Linked DNA regions of Homo sapiens: regions 1, 2 and 3 are each linked to region 4. Evidence: promoter capture Hi-C in 16 types of primary human blood cells and fetal thymus (Javierre and others, 2016). All regions are on one chromosome and are shown on one strand. Each heading gives the region's core, a stretch centred on a gene start or on the middle of the fragment in contact. The rest is flanking DNA. Distances are from core to core; before and after follow the strand shown.

Region 1 (3,415 bases), core at 9-2,508, 210 kb before region 4:
ATATTCTGAGGTGCCAGAATTGCACTAGATGCATTGATGACTTGGAGGGTATTGGTAGGGTAGAATGTTCCCGTCAGAGAATTAAGTATATAGGTACCCTTTCCTCAAAAATGCTTAGACTAGGTAGGGAAGAGGGTGAGGCACAATAGCATATCTTTAATTGGGTGGGGTGAGAACCAAAGAATCGGAAAAACAGACATTCCAGCTCCTCCAAGTTCTTCCAATCGTCAGAACTGTGGAACTAGCCCACCAGGCTTTCTCCAGTCACGTGAGCCGGGAGCCACCAGGATCTCATTGGCCAAGGCTCCCAGAGGGCGGGAAGAGCGGGAAGTGAGGACCAATGGGGCAGGCCAAAGGGACTGTGGAGGCCGACGCATGCGCAGTGCCCTCCGGCCTAGCCCGGCCAACCCGCCTGTCCCGGACCGCCCGGCGTCAGGTACGGGTTCACCAAGCCACCCCGCCCACCTCAGGACGCAGCTGCCGGTCCAGCTGCTCCCGCGGGCCCACAGCGCGCTGTGGAAAGGAGCGGACAGGCCAGAGGCTCTCTCGGGCCTACAAGTCTCTAGGCTAGGCAGTGTTTCCGAGTCCCAGGTGCCTCCAGAGGCCGAGCTCACAGCGCGGCCCACCCAGCATCCGGGGGCGCTGTGAGGGGCGCTCGCCCAGCAGCGGAAAGGCCATTCGCGTGGCGCGGGAGCGCGGGCCCGGCCGCCTGGGCGTGTCCCTTTCGCGGAACTGAGCTCACTGGCTCCTCTCTTCCAGACGGAGCGACGGGGCCGGCCGCAGCCTCAGCCACGCGTCCCTCGGTGGCGGGCAGGCTCCTCTTGGCCTGCAGCCTTACTTTCATGCCCTTCTTCACAGGTGAGCGGATGGCTTGGGGTCCTCCCGCATTTCCCGCAGCGTCGCTCTCTGCATTCCCGCATTCCCAGGTTCCTGCTGCATTCGTGAATTCCCTCCTGCATTCCTGTACTCTCCACTCTTCCAGCCTGCATTCCCACATTTCCACCCTCATTCCTGCATTCCCAACTGCATCCCCCAACGTTGCCACTTTCTCCCCATCGTTCCCACCTGCGTTTCCGCATTCCCACATCCCTGCTCTGATTCCCACCCGCATTTCTGAATCCCCACCTGCTTTCTCTACCCCAGTCCAGCCTTTATTCCGGCATTTCTGCCTTCATTCTCGCGTTCCCAGCCACATTCCCCTTTGCATTCTGCAGACCTCCAATCACCTTTCTTTGTTGGGCAGTGTACTCATCAGCACGGCATAAGGAAAGAGCAGACACGGCTCCTGCCCTCATAATGCTTACAGTCTACAGAACAGTGCTGGGGACACAGTCCTGAGTGTTGCCTTCTGATCAACCACTTAACTGACTGCCTGGCCTCAGGAAAGCAGCTGAGCTTATCTGTTCTTAGGTATCCTTATTAGAGTACTAAGAATATTGGTTCCTGCCTATTATAGTTGTAAGGAACATGTGAGCTAGTAAAGGGCTGACACAATGCCTGGCATGTAATAAGCTCTCATTAAAGAGAGCTTTAATGTTTGTCTGTCTTTCTCCAGAGACCACTTCATGTTGGGAGAATTGTGGGGAGAGAAAATGTTCACCAGTGAAACGTGAATCATGAGCCCTCATCCAAGTAGTTCTACTTCCCCGATTTCCCTGAAGGTTATAGGGTACTGTGTGAGCAGCCTCTAACTCTCCCTGGTTGTTCACAGAAGTAAGATGTTCTGGGTCTGCTTATCGGGAGGAGTCATTCAGTTAGTGCCACATAATCATTTTAACATTTCTCCCATTGCTGCCAGGGCATCCTGCATCACCTCCCAAGCCAGCCTCCCACGTCACCTGGGTGGTGTACTAATTCACGGCCAGGAGCACTGACTGTTCCTGCTCCCACGTCACCTGGGTGGTGTACTGATTCACGGCCAGGAGCATTGACTATTCCTGGCCACCTCCTTGCACCTTTCCTGGTTCCCTCAGCCTCTCAAAGTTCTCATCTTTCCTTTGATGAGAAAGAGAAGGGCAGACTGAAAATAGACTCACCACCCACCTGTCCTTTCCCCCTGCCCCATACTGGTGGACCAGCATCACAGTAAAAATAGTTACCACTTAGTAAGAATTCATTATGAGCCAACTTAGGATTTTTGATAAGATAAAAGAGTTCAGCATAATTTTACATAAAATTAGTTTTTTCTTGATATATTTTCTTCTCTTCTGCTTTCCACACCTAATAAAACATTACAGAAAGTCTTGTTTTATTTATTTTGAGGACAGGCCTTAGGTAAAATGTGGAAGTTTATCTTGGAGCTTCCAATCTTCAAGTTCTCTTCTCCTTTCCCCATCCTCTGTCTTCTCCACTCTATCCTATCTTATCTCCTCTAGAGCCCAAACCCAGCCCCACTGATTTTTCTCAATCAAAGCTCATTTAAAAAAAAAAAAAGGATGGGAAAATCGTCGTTCCTCTCACTATGAATAGCTAAGAACAGTGCTATTAACTTGCCTGGTATGCTCTGCATTTTAACAGAAATCAAAGTCCAGAACTTTTTAAAAAAAAAAAAAAAAACCATTTACTGGAATATTGGGCTTAAGAGTGTTTGTGCATTTGGTTGAGAGGGCAGGAAGACCTATCAGTCTGCATGTGGCACACACTCTAATAATTTTCTTCAAGTTCACATGCCATTGCCTTGGGACATCAGGGCCCCAGCCAGGCACTGGAGGGGCAGAGGGAGGCATGTGGGCAACTTTGAGGGGAGTGGGAGAAAGTGATACTTAATCTCATACTTAACCAGGTGACCACTTGTTTCCTCAAAAGTGCCCTCCTTTGCTCTGCTGATCAGAGATTGCTTAGTGGTTATGATTAGTAGTGAAGTTTGTTTGAATATAATATTTTCTGTAACAAGCCTTTTTTTTCGGGAGCAAAAACAAATTTTAAAACTTTTTTTCATATATTGTCCCATTTTAAAAATTTACTTACATTTGTTTTTAATTGTGTAACTGTAAAAATAAATAATATATGCCTATGACGTATATTATCCTACCCTCTTCAGCCCCCAACACAACTCCTGTTTAGCAACCATAGTTATTCCTTTCTTGTTTACCTTTCCAGAAATGGTCTGTTACTTACAAACATATCCAAATGCATCTTTTCTTTCCATTGGCAGCATTTTATATCAAATGCTCTACATCTTGTTTTTTTCCCCTTAAAAGTACATCTTGAAGAGCTTTTCATTTCATCAGAATATGGCCATATTCTGTCTATGGTGGTATTCATCTCTGTTTCATGGATATGACAGAATCTATCTAACCATGAGAATTTCAGTCACTTCTGATCACTTCTTATCACAGAGGATGCTACAATGAATGACCTTGTACAAATGCATGTAGGAAAATACCTAGGAATTGCTGGATAAAAGAGCTTGTGC
Region 2 (3,583 bases), core at 948-3,447, 190 kb before region 4:
ATCCCAGTATTGGGCCCCAGGACAAGATGTGCTCTGGTGGTGGCTCCAGTCCCATTCCTGAACGTGCCATGCTGCAGCAACCTGGGTCCTGGGCCACTGGGGGAACCCAGCATAAATTCTTTCTCTGGAATAATAAAGTCATATGGACTCTAGGCAGCACCCTCTACTGCACTTAGGGACTGTGAGCAACCTTGGGCTGTGAGGTATGAAGTATCATCTCGTTGTGGGTTTTTTTTTTTTTTTAAGACAGGGTCTCACTCTGTCACCCAAGCTGGAGTGCAGTGGTGCAATCAGCTCACTGTAACCTCAATCTCTTGGGTTCAAGCGGTCCTCCTGCCTCAGCCTCCCAAATAGCTGGGCCTACAGGCACACGCCACCATTCCTGGCTAATCTCATTGTGGTTTTGATTTGCATTTCCGTGGTGGCTAATGATGTTGAGCATATTTTCATGGGATTTCTGGCCATTTGTATATTTTCTTTGGAAACGTTAACAGTCTTTTGTTACCTTTCCTTTTTACTTTTAATGGCTAAACACAATCTTTTCCCTTTTTAAGCTATTTAAGAAAAGCAACACCTTAAAATAATACAACAACAATTAGATGAAACTGAGGTCCAGATAACTCTCCTTTGCTGATTCTATTCTTTGTACTCAGAAGTGCCAGTGTTCATGAAGACCTGTAGTCCCCACATGATGAGAGGCAAAAACATGAGAATTATTAGTTTAGGTCACATTGTACACTGAGTTTTGTGGTGGGTGGTTTTTATCTTATTTAGGGAAGTTTAAAACAATCTTATTTAGGGAAGTTTTCTCTTATTTAGGGAAGTTTATTTTATTTAGGAATGTTTAAAAAAGTTTAAAACAATTAGGGAAGTTTAAAACTACATATTTCATCCTACTGACAGAGTTAAGCTTGCTTCATCTGCCTAGTGTCCTGAAGAAATTTCACAAGAGGTTACGAGAAAATGTAGTTTCAAAACCAGCAACGGCAGCAATATCCACAGCCGGTTATGGAGATTTTAAGCTTTTGTTTGAAAACCAGTTTCTAAAAATGAATCCAGTTGCAATAGCGTATGTATTTTAAAGAGAATGATAATTATATAGGGCAGTAGAAGAAAAGCTGGAAAAAGAACACAACAAACTTGAATGTTGATGCAATTTCATGCTGCTCTTCATTTATATCTTTGTATCTTATAAAGATAAAATAGGGAGATATAAATAGGGAATCAAAAATGTACATAGTTGAGTGAAAATTAAGCATAAGCACAATTATTTAATGTGTAGAGTTTGTGTTTGAGATTGTGAAAATGTTTCAGAGATGAATAGTAGAGGTGGTTACACAACGTGGTGAATGTACTTAATGACACTAAGTTATACACTTGAAAATGGTTTCAATGGCAAATTTTATGCTATGTATATTTTGCCACAATAAAAAGGTTTTTTAAGAGTCAGTAGCTCAAAAGAAGACAGAGAGATCAAATGGCTAGAGATGCCTAGCACTCACCTTCTCCACAAAGAAGGACCAAAGTAACAAATTGATAAACACACATTGACTAGAATGTCTAAGGAAGAACACTGGAATTCAGCAGATAGTGTTCAAATTCAAAGAAAAGAAACTTTGAGGCACAAAAACTCAGGATGACAGCATAGAGAGGTAAGCAATGCAGCCTACCGAGATGTGCTTGGAGCCAGGAGGGACTCCCTCCCCATTGCGGAGAAAAGGTTAGCAGGAGGTCCCCAGAAGTCTATATTTCCACCAGACACCTGCAGTCATAGCTACAGGAGAGCCCTCAGCCCTCACAGTCCCTTAGTCTAGTATAGGGTACTGCCTAGAGTCCACATGACTTTACTACTCCAGAGAGAGAATTTATGCTGGATTCCCCCAATGTCCCAGGACCCAGGGCTGCAGCATGGCACCATTTTGGGAGTGGAGCCATCACCAGAGTACATACTGTCCAGGGGCCCAATTGCTCCTTCATCTCCACATCCATCCCTGGGGTCTCATCCACATCCCACCACAGGTACCCAGAGTGTTGCTGCATAAAGACACAACTGAGATCTGTTATAGCTGTGCAGCTGTGACCCTGGCACCTGAGCCCATGCAGCCCCTTATACCCTGTGGAGCCAGAAGACTGGTGTGTGTGCTCCCCAGACCCTGAAAGCCACCTGCCTGGGCTTTTGCTGCTTCTGCTGCAGGACACATCCACTCTAGTGGTAGTGTCATCTCACACCTGCACATACTGCCCAAGGGCTAAAGGAATGGCCTGCCCAGAGCCTGCTACCACCAACACCAGCACCCATGAATGCCACCAATGGGATGAAGACTGACAGTAAAGGGATGGAAAATAATATTCCATGCAAATGGAAATCAAAAGCATCCAAGAATAGCTCTATTTATGTCAGACAAAATAGACTTTAAGTCAAAAAACATAAAAATAGACAAAGAAAATCATTAAATAATGATGAAGAAATAAATTTAGCAAGAAGGTATAACAATTATAAATATATATGCACCCAACACTGGAGCACCAATGTAAAGCAAATACAATTAGATCTAAAGGGAGAGATAGACCCCTAATGTAATAATAGTTGGAGACTTTGTGAAAGGAAAATAAATCTTGGGGCCCCAAAATCACTAAGCTAAAGGGAAAAGTCAAGCTGGGAACTGCTTAGGGCAAACCTGCCTCCTATTCTATTCAGTCACCCCTCTGCTCACTGAGATAAATGCATATCTGATTGCATTTGGTCTTTGGAGGGGCTAGTCAGAAACTCAAAAGAATGTAACCATTTGTCTCTTATCTACCTATGACCTGGGAGTTCCCTCCCTGCTTCGAGTTGTCCTGCCTTTGCTTCGAGTTGTCCTGTCTTTCCAGACTGAACCAATGTTCATCTTACATATGTTGATTGATGTCTCATGTCTCCCTAAAATGTATAAAACCAAACTGCGCTCTGAGCGCCTTGGGCACATGTCCTCAGGACAACCTGAGGCTATGTCCTTTGTGTGCATCCTCAACCTTGGCAAAATGAACTTTTTAAATTAACTGAGACCTATCTCAGATATACAGGATTCACATTTTGTTAACTGTGGAGGGATTCTGAATGGAGATGCCCCTTGACCTTTGAAAAATCTCCTATTGGTGCTTGGTACCCGCATGAGCTAACTTTATGGCTCAAACCAATAGGACAATTTGCTGAGGTCTGGGAGCACCCCCTCCAGATGATACAGGAGCTAGAAAGAAATTATTTAGGCAGTTAATGAGGGTAAGAGAGTCCTTAGCAAGGTTTTGCTTTTAATAAAAAGCAGACCCCAAATCATTTCTTTTCTAACAAAGAGCAGCCTGAAAAATCAAGCTGCAGACATGGAAAAGCAAGCTAGAAGCTTGCATGGGTGAGTGCTGGCAGTTGTGCCAATAGGAAAAGGCTACCTGGGGGCCAGGCATGTTCAACATGGAGGCTCCATCTTCCCTTTTCTCTTTCAATCACATGTACAGTAAAGGAACAGACAACATGGTGCCAGCCAGGTAGGGGACCCATCTGCATAATAAAAGATTAGGATGGGGCTGCCAGCTTCTTTGTGTGCTATGT
Region 3 (3,416 bases), core at 838-3,337, 170 kb before region 4:
GGCTGCACATTTCTTTCAGCTCCTGTCATTCCAATTGAAGAGAGCTCATATGACATTCTAGAGATGGCTGCATGCAAGCATTTAAAACCTTTGAGAGAATACAGCGCACCAGGGAGACTATTATTATGACTATTGGGAGGATAATACCAAGAGTTTGGAGTATGCTCTTTACCCAAGGTCCCCATAAACCAAACCTCCTACAATCAAATAAACCAAAGAGTGGGCTAAAGAGTTTACTCACTTGACTAAGCATTTTTTTTGTTCCCAACACAAAGAAATGAGAATATTCAAGCTGATGAATGTCCTAAATATCCTGACTTTCTCATTACATATTGTATGCATGTATCAAAATATCACATGCACTCCATAAACATGTAAAATACCAGCAAAAATAAAAATAAAAAACAAGTGACAGCCAGGCGCGGTGGCTCACGCCTGTAATCCCAGCACTTTAGGAGGCCGAGGCAGGCAGATCACCTGAGGTCCGGAGTTCGAGACCAGCCTGACCAACATGAAGAAACCGCGTCTCTACTAAAAATACAAAATTAGCCAAGTGTGGTGGTGCATGCCTGTAATCCCAGCTACTCGGGAGGCTGAGGCAGGAGAATGGCTTGAACCTAGGAGGCTGAGGTTGCTGTGAGCCGAGATCGTGCCATTGCACTCCAGCCTGGGCAATAAGAGCGAAACTCTCTCTCAAAAAAAAAAAAAAAAAAACAAGTGAGAGAACTTTCTGGTCATATTATCAGTATAATGTTGTTTCTATGCCTATTAAATTAAAATTTTTTTTTAAATGAGGGACAAAAAAACTGAAGTCCAATAGAAAAATAAATAAAATAAATCCAACAGAAAAGTAGGTAAAAGACATACACAGATAAATTATATATAAAATCTTAATGGACTTCAAATACATGAAAAATGTTCAAACTCCATAATTAAAGAAATGCAAATTAAAACAACCTTGAAATCTTATTTCCCAGCTGTCTGACTGGCAAACATTAAAATGGAAAATGGAACATTCTTTGGCATAACTGCTGTTAGGAATGCACAGGTCAGCACAATCTTTCCGTAGGGGAATTTGGCAAACCTAACAAAACTACCTGTGCATTAATGACCCAGCAATCCAACTTCTAGGAATCTGCTCTGAAGACATACCTTCAGTGTTAGTGGCAGCAGAGATCTGAGATACCCTGAGTTTTCCGCGGCATCCACAGGAGCCCACAGGAACTTCAGCTCTTGCTTCCTCAGGAGAAAGAATTCGACTGAGGTGCATAAAGCAGGAAAAGAGACCGAGGCAAGTTTCAGAGCAGGAGTGGAAGTTTATTTTAAAAGGCTTTGGAAAAGGAAAGAAACGAAAATTTGCTTGGAAGAGACCCAAGGGGGCGCCTGAAGGTCCAAGAGAGAAAAAAGGAGGCCTTTAACCTTAATCCTAGAACTCTATAGACTCGCCTCTTTCCCATGATTCTTCCCTTAGGGCGGGCTTTCCGCATGCCCAGTGGTCTCCTTGCCCTTTGAAACTGAGCATGCGCAGTGTGTTTAGGGAGTAATACGCATGCCCATCTCAGGCTTGCTTTCTTTTTCCAGTGGCGTGTACCAGTAATGTCATGCTTGACATTTTTGTCTTCTTAATGTGCATGTCCAGGAAGTTTCTCTTCCCTGGGGTCTTCATTCAATGAACACTTCAATGTTTAACAGCTGTGGATCATGAGGAGATCTTCCTCTCCATGGCTCCGGAATTATCATTTTTAGACAGGCAGTTTGATAATTGTTGAACCAGCACCTGACGTTTCTAGTGGGTGAGGGAGAACGCTCTCCTGCCCCACTCATGGCTATCTACCTATAAAATTCAGCAATAGAAAAATACAAATGCTCAAGGGTATTCATTGAAACATTGTGATTGCAAAATATTGGAGCAAACTGAAAGCCCATACAGCACAGAGCAGTTGAAAAGCCACACTGTGGACTCCGGTGACGCACTGCGGAAGAATGGCAGACCCCATGAACAGAAGCAACAGATTTCCAGAATATACTATGAAGTGAGAAAAAGCGAAATTGCATAAGGGTATCTACAGTAGACTACTACTCAGGTGGGCCGCTCTTAATTGGTTGCTGTTTATAAAGCTGAGATGACCAGCTGGAGTGATCTGGACAACAGACAGGCCCAGGAGAGGCCCAAGTACCCCAGGGCTCTTCCAGTGGTGGGAGTGTGCCCCCACCAAAGTGTCGATGAGCAACCCCTGGAAGGACACACCAGAAGGTGAGCCCTAAGGCAAAGCGCACACACCATCTGCAACTCAGCCTGGGCCGTTCCCAAGCTCTCTGGAGTGCTCAGGCCCCAAAAGGGGCGGAAATGGAGCGTGGAAAATTCTTTTGGCCAAGAACGTCTCTGACCTTCAGGAGGAAAATGAATGAATAAGCAAGCAAACAAATAAAAGCTAGAACCATCCAGGTAAAAAGTGACTACTTTAGCTTATACAGAAAAATATATAAACTATTCAATGTAAGAAATAAAAAAGATAAACTTTAGTGCTATATTATGGTCACAGGGGAAGAAAAAGTGAAAGCAGGTGAGATGGGGTTGGAGAACACAAATGAGGCACTGAATTCCAAAAGAAAAAAGACAAATAGTGAGACGAAGACTTGGAGGCAGGAAGAAAGACAGCTGGGAGTCCACTCTTAGCCAACACAAGATTGAATATACTGGGGTGCACAAGTACCTTGTAAACCAAAAATAAAATTCTAAGGCCTCCCAACCATCTGAATGGACTTCTCGTCAGCCAGGGCTCTTTTAAAATTTAACCTAAGAGACTGTTTTAGGCTATGACTGTTTTAGGGGGTTGGACATGTCTCATTATACCTCTCCAGCATTAACATGGACACAGACTTTAAGTCTGATAGGAAACAGTTTACAACCTATCCTCTCCGAAGCCTACCACCTGAAGGTTTCCTCTGCAAATAGGAACTTGGGTCTCCACAATCCTTTATCTTAACCCAGACATTCCTTTCTATTGATCCCACGTCTCTAGACAAACTCAACAAATTGTCAACCAGAAAATGTTTAAATTTACCTGTAGCCTGGAAGCCCCCATTTTAAGTTGTCCTGCCTTTCTGAACCAAACCAAGGTACCTCTTAAATGTATTTGATTGATGTCTCATGTCTCCCGTAAATATGTAAAATCATGCTGTGCCCTAACCACCTTGGGCACATTTTCTCAGGACCTCCTGAGGGCTGTGTCATGGGCCATGGTCATTCATATTTGGCTCAGAATAAATCTCTCCAAACCCCAACTCTGTTCCTCCATTGAGGAAGAAGTATGGCTGTCTCTAGGCCCCTAGGCCACTGTGTTCACTTGAAGACGAGTTCTCAAATTTTGTATTGTCCCTTCCTGCCCACCTTGAAGCCCATAGGGGATGATATC
Region 4 (3,253 bases), core at 128-2,627:
TTTGACATGCCATATATTTTGTTTACTGTCTGGTTCTCCCACTGAAATGACAAGAGGGTTTTTCTCTTGTGCCTTTTCTTTTTCACTGTTCTAACATCACTGCTCAGAGGAGTGATTGTCACAGAGAAGACACTCATTTAACACTTGAATGAATGAATGAGACACAGGATCTGGGGAACAAAGCAAGTTAGAAACACCACCCTACCTTACCTAGAGTAGCACTCCCATTTTCCCATGGCTTATTGCCTGTTTTCTCAATTTGCTCATATGTGGAATGAATGACAAACTAATACGTGCCCTTCACTTCAGAATCTCACAAATGAGCATGATTTTTTTCTTCTGATCCAGGGGTTTTGGAACACACTTTACAGTGACCAAAAAACCTTTGTGAAGTGTCAGTGTGGAGAAGCAAATACAAACTCTTCACTAAGTGGCCCTCTTTTTGAATGTTAACACGGTTTGGTCCCAGGGATTTCTGTGTTCAAAGCCTTTCAGGGCAAGGCAGTTTTCTGCGGAGTACACTGTCCTATATACCTAATGGGCTACTGGGTTTCAGCTGGACAAAGTCCTTATAGAGCCGTGATTCTCAAGAAGTAGGGGGAGATACTTTTATTTGTCATAACTAGAGTGGAGAGAGTGTGGTGTGCTACTGGCATTTAGTTGCTAGGGATGCTCAATATCCTACAATTAAGGTTCTATTTTTACCAAGTAAAAATATAGGTAGGCAAGGTAGCCAGATGAAATACAGGGACTTCCAGTTAAATGTGAATCTTAGATGAACAACACTGTTACCTGAAACTCAAATTTAACTGTATTTTATCCGTGACCCTGCCTCCTATAATGCACAGGACAGCCTCCTTCCCTCTCAACAAAGAATTATCCAGGCCCAAAATGTCAAGAGTGGAGGTTGAGAAACCCTGCCATACAGCAGTGGTTCTCAAGCCCTAGTTTGTACCACAATTACCTTCAGGGTTGGTAAGGCCGATTATTGGGCACACCCTCAGAGTTTCTTACTCAGAAGGCCTGTAGTGGGGTCCCAAGATTTGCATTTCCATCGATTTCCCAGGTGAAGCTGCTGTTAGATTGGGGGCACATTTGAGAACCACTACCCTAGAAAGTCCCCATGCTCTCCTGATTAGGAAGGAGCGAGGAAGGTTTCCAAAGTAGGACAGGGGTGGGAGGGTAAGGGAGAGTGGCGGGAAGAGCTGGCCCGCTGGGGTGGGTTATTTCGGCCGTTCTGGCCTCGCAGGCGTTTTCGGGATCCCTCTAGGCGCCGCGGAGGTCCTGGAGTCTCGATGGTCGCTCGGGCCGGGGCGTGGCCTGGCCCGGGGGCGTGGCATGGAAGGCCGGCCGAGGTGCAGCGAGCCCTCTGGTGCCGGACGTTGCGCGGCCGCGACGCCCGACGCCAACGCAGGCGCAGCGCTCCGATTCGGCGCGGCTCATGGTCCGGTTCGGGCTCGCGAGTCTCCGTCTGGGGTAGGGCAGGTAGGCCTCAGTGTGCTCGCGCTGCAGGCAGGGCTTCGCTTGAGTACAGGAGTGGTTGGCGTTGATGTTGCGTTTTCTCAACGGCGGCATCCGAGGAGTTCGTCCTCACCACTGCGCGCCGACGGTGGGCTGGCGGGACCAGGACAGGAACAATGGGATTCCGAGGGCCGCAAGGGGGCGCTCCTTCTGCGGGTTGGGGTGCGAGGCCGGAGGCCGGGCCGGCTGAGCGGGAGGCGGAGCGGGGTGGGTGGGGACCAGGGCGGGGTCGGGCTAAAGAGGGATGGATTCAGGGCGGGGTGGGAGGGACCAGGGCAGGCTCGGGCGGGGTGGGCGGGACGAAGGAGGCGGGCGGCCTGAGGCTGGCGGCGGGACTGCGAATGCCACGTCACATCCTGGGGCGGGGTGGCTCTGTGCCGGGGCGCGCTGGGGGCGGGTCGTTTTTAACTGCGTCTGCCTGGGAAGCTGCTGAGGTTTCTGAGGGTCTTTGTTTGCCCTTCTTTCTCTTTTGCTAGTGAGGTGAAGAGAAGGGAGGGTTCTTCCGTATCCCACAAAAGCCATTCTGAGCTGTTGGGTGAAGGGGTGGCCTGCCCTTCCACACCTGTGGGATATCTTGTCAGGTGGGAGGAGAGACTGAGAAAAGAAATAAGACACAGAGACAAAGTATAGAGAAACCACAGTGGGCCCAGGGGACCGGCACTCAGCATACCAAGGACTTGCACCAGCACCGGTCTCTGAGTTCCCTCAGTTTTTATTGATTATTGTTTTCATTATCTCAGCAAGAGGAATGCGGTAGGAGAGCAGGGTGATAAGGAGGTCAGCAAAGAAACATGTGAGCAAAAGAATTTATGTCATAAGTTCAAGTGGAGGTACTATGCCTGGATGTGCACGTAGGCCACATTTATGTTTCTCTCTGCCCAAACATTTCAGTGGAATAAAGAATAACAGGGCAGCATTGCTGCCAACATGTCTTGCCTCCTGCCATAGGGCAGTTTTTCTCCTATCTCAGAATTGAACAAATGTACAATCAGGTTTTGTACGGAGACATTCAGTTCCCAGGGGCAGGCAGGACACAGTGGCCTTCATCTATCTCAACTGCAAGAGGCTTTCCTCTTTTACTAATCCACCTCAGCACAGACGGGTGTCGGGCTGGGGGACGGTAAGGTCTTTCTCTTCCCACGAGGCTGTATTTCAGACTATCACATGGGGAGAAACCTTGGACAATACCCGGCTTTCCAGGGCAGAGGTCCCTGTGGCTTTTCATGGTGCATTGCGCCCCTTGTTTATTGAGACTAGAGAATGGTGATGACTTTTACCAAGCATACTGCTTGTAAACATTTTGTTAACAAGACATGTCCTGCACAGCCCTAGACCCCTTAAACCTTGATTCCATACAACACATGTTTTTGTGAGGTCAAGGTTGGAGCAAAGAGGTTGGGGCAAAGTTACAGATTAAGAGCATCTCAGGGCAAAGCAATTGTTCAAGGTACAGGTCAAAATGGAATTTCTTATGTCTTCCCTTTCTACATAGACACAGTAGCAGTCTGACTTCTCTTTCTTTTCCCTACAGTTAGGCACCTGGCTCAGCTTTGGGGCATTTACATCTATAAAATGTCTTTTGAATAATTTTTATCTTGAATTAATTTCAGAGTTTCAGAGTGTTGTGAAACAAGCAAAAATTCCCATGTACGGTTCGTCTGGATTTCCTAGGGGTTAACATCTTATTTTACAAAACAGTCAACAAAACCAGGATATTAACACCTACAGGCCT

What was found. Contacts are between HindIII fragments. The CHiCAGO score rates a contact against its expected background, and 5 or more counts as called.
Region 1: a fragment that was not itself captured here is called in contact with the fragment with the promoter of PGBD2 in region 4 in 9 of 17 cell types (total B cells, naive B cells, neutrophils and 6 more); the score reaches 13.1 in total B cells.
Region 2: a contact is called between a fragment that was not itself captured here and the fragment with the promoter of PGBD2 in region 4, in 6 of 17 cell types (monocytes, M2 macrophages, total B cells and 3 more). The highest score is 7.2, in monocytes.
Region 3: a contact is called between a fragment that was not itself captured here and the fragment with the promoter of PGBD2 in region 4, in 1 of 17 cell types (neutrophils). The highest score is 6.7, in neutrophils.

Annotation. Positions count from the first base shown.
Region 1 is chr1:248,691,361-248,694,775 of GRCh38, forward strand. All of the region lies in intron 3 of OR14I1 (olfactory receptor family 14 subfamily I member 1), which reads right to left. Among named protein-coding and RNA genes, the nearest start is that of OR14I1, 9.7 kb to the right of the region's middle. The HindIII fragment of the contact is 9,246 bases long and covers 1-3,415 here.
Region 2 is chr1:248,709,788-248,713,370 of GRCh38, forward strand. No RefSeq gene overlaps it. Among named protein-coding and RNA genes, the nearest start is that of OR14I1, 8.8 kb to the left of the region's middle. The HindIII fragment of the contact is 2,355 bases long and covers 1,021-3,375 here.
Region 3 is chr1:248,729,653-248,733,068 of GRCh38, forward strand. No RefSeq gene overlaps it. Among named protein-coding and RNA genes, the nearest start is that of LYPD8, 24 kb to the right of the region's middle. The HindIII fragment of the contact is 4,902 bases long and covers 1-3,416 here.
Region 4 is chr1:248,904,858-248,908,110 of GRCh38, forward strand. PGBD2 (piggyBac transposable element derived 2) reads left to right here and starts at 1,378. Exons shown (of 3, transcript NM_170725.3): 1 at 1,378-1,485. RefSeq lists enhancers at 1,008-1,929, 1,454-1,643 and silencers at 1,264-1,323, 1,734-1,823. The HindIII fragment of the contact is 4,441 bases long and covers 1-3,253 here.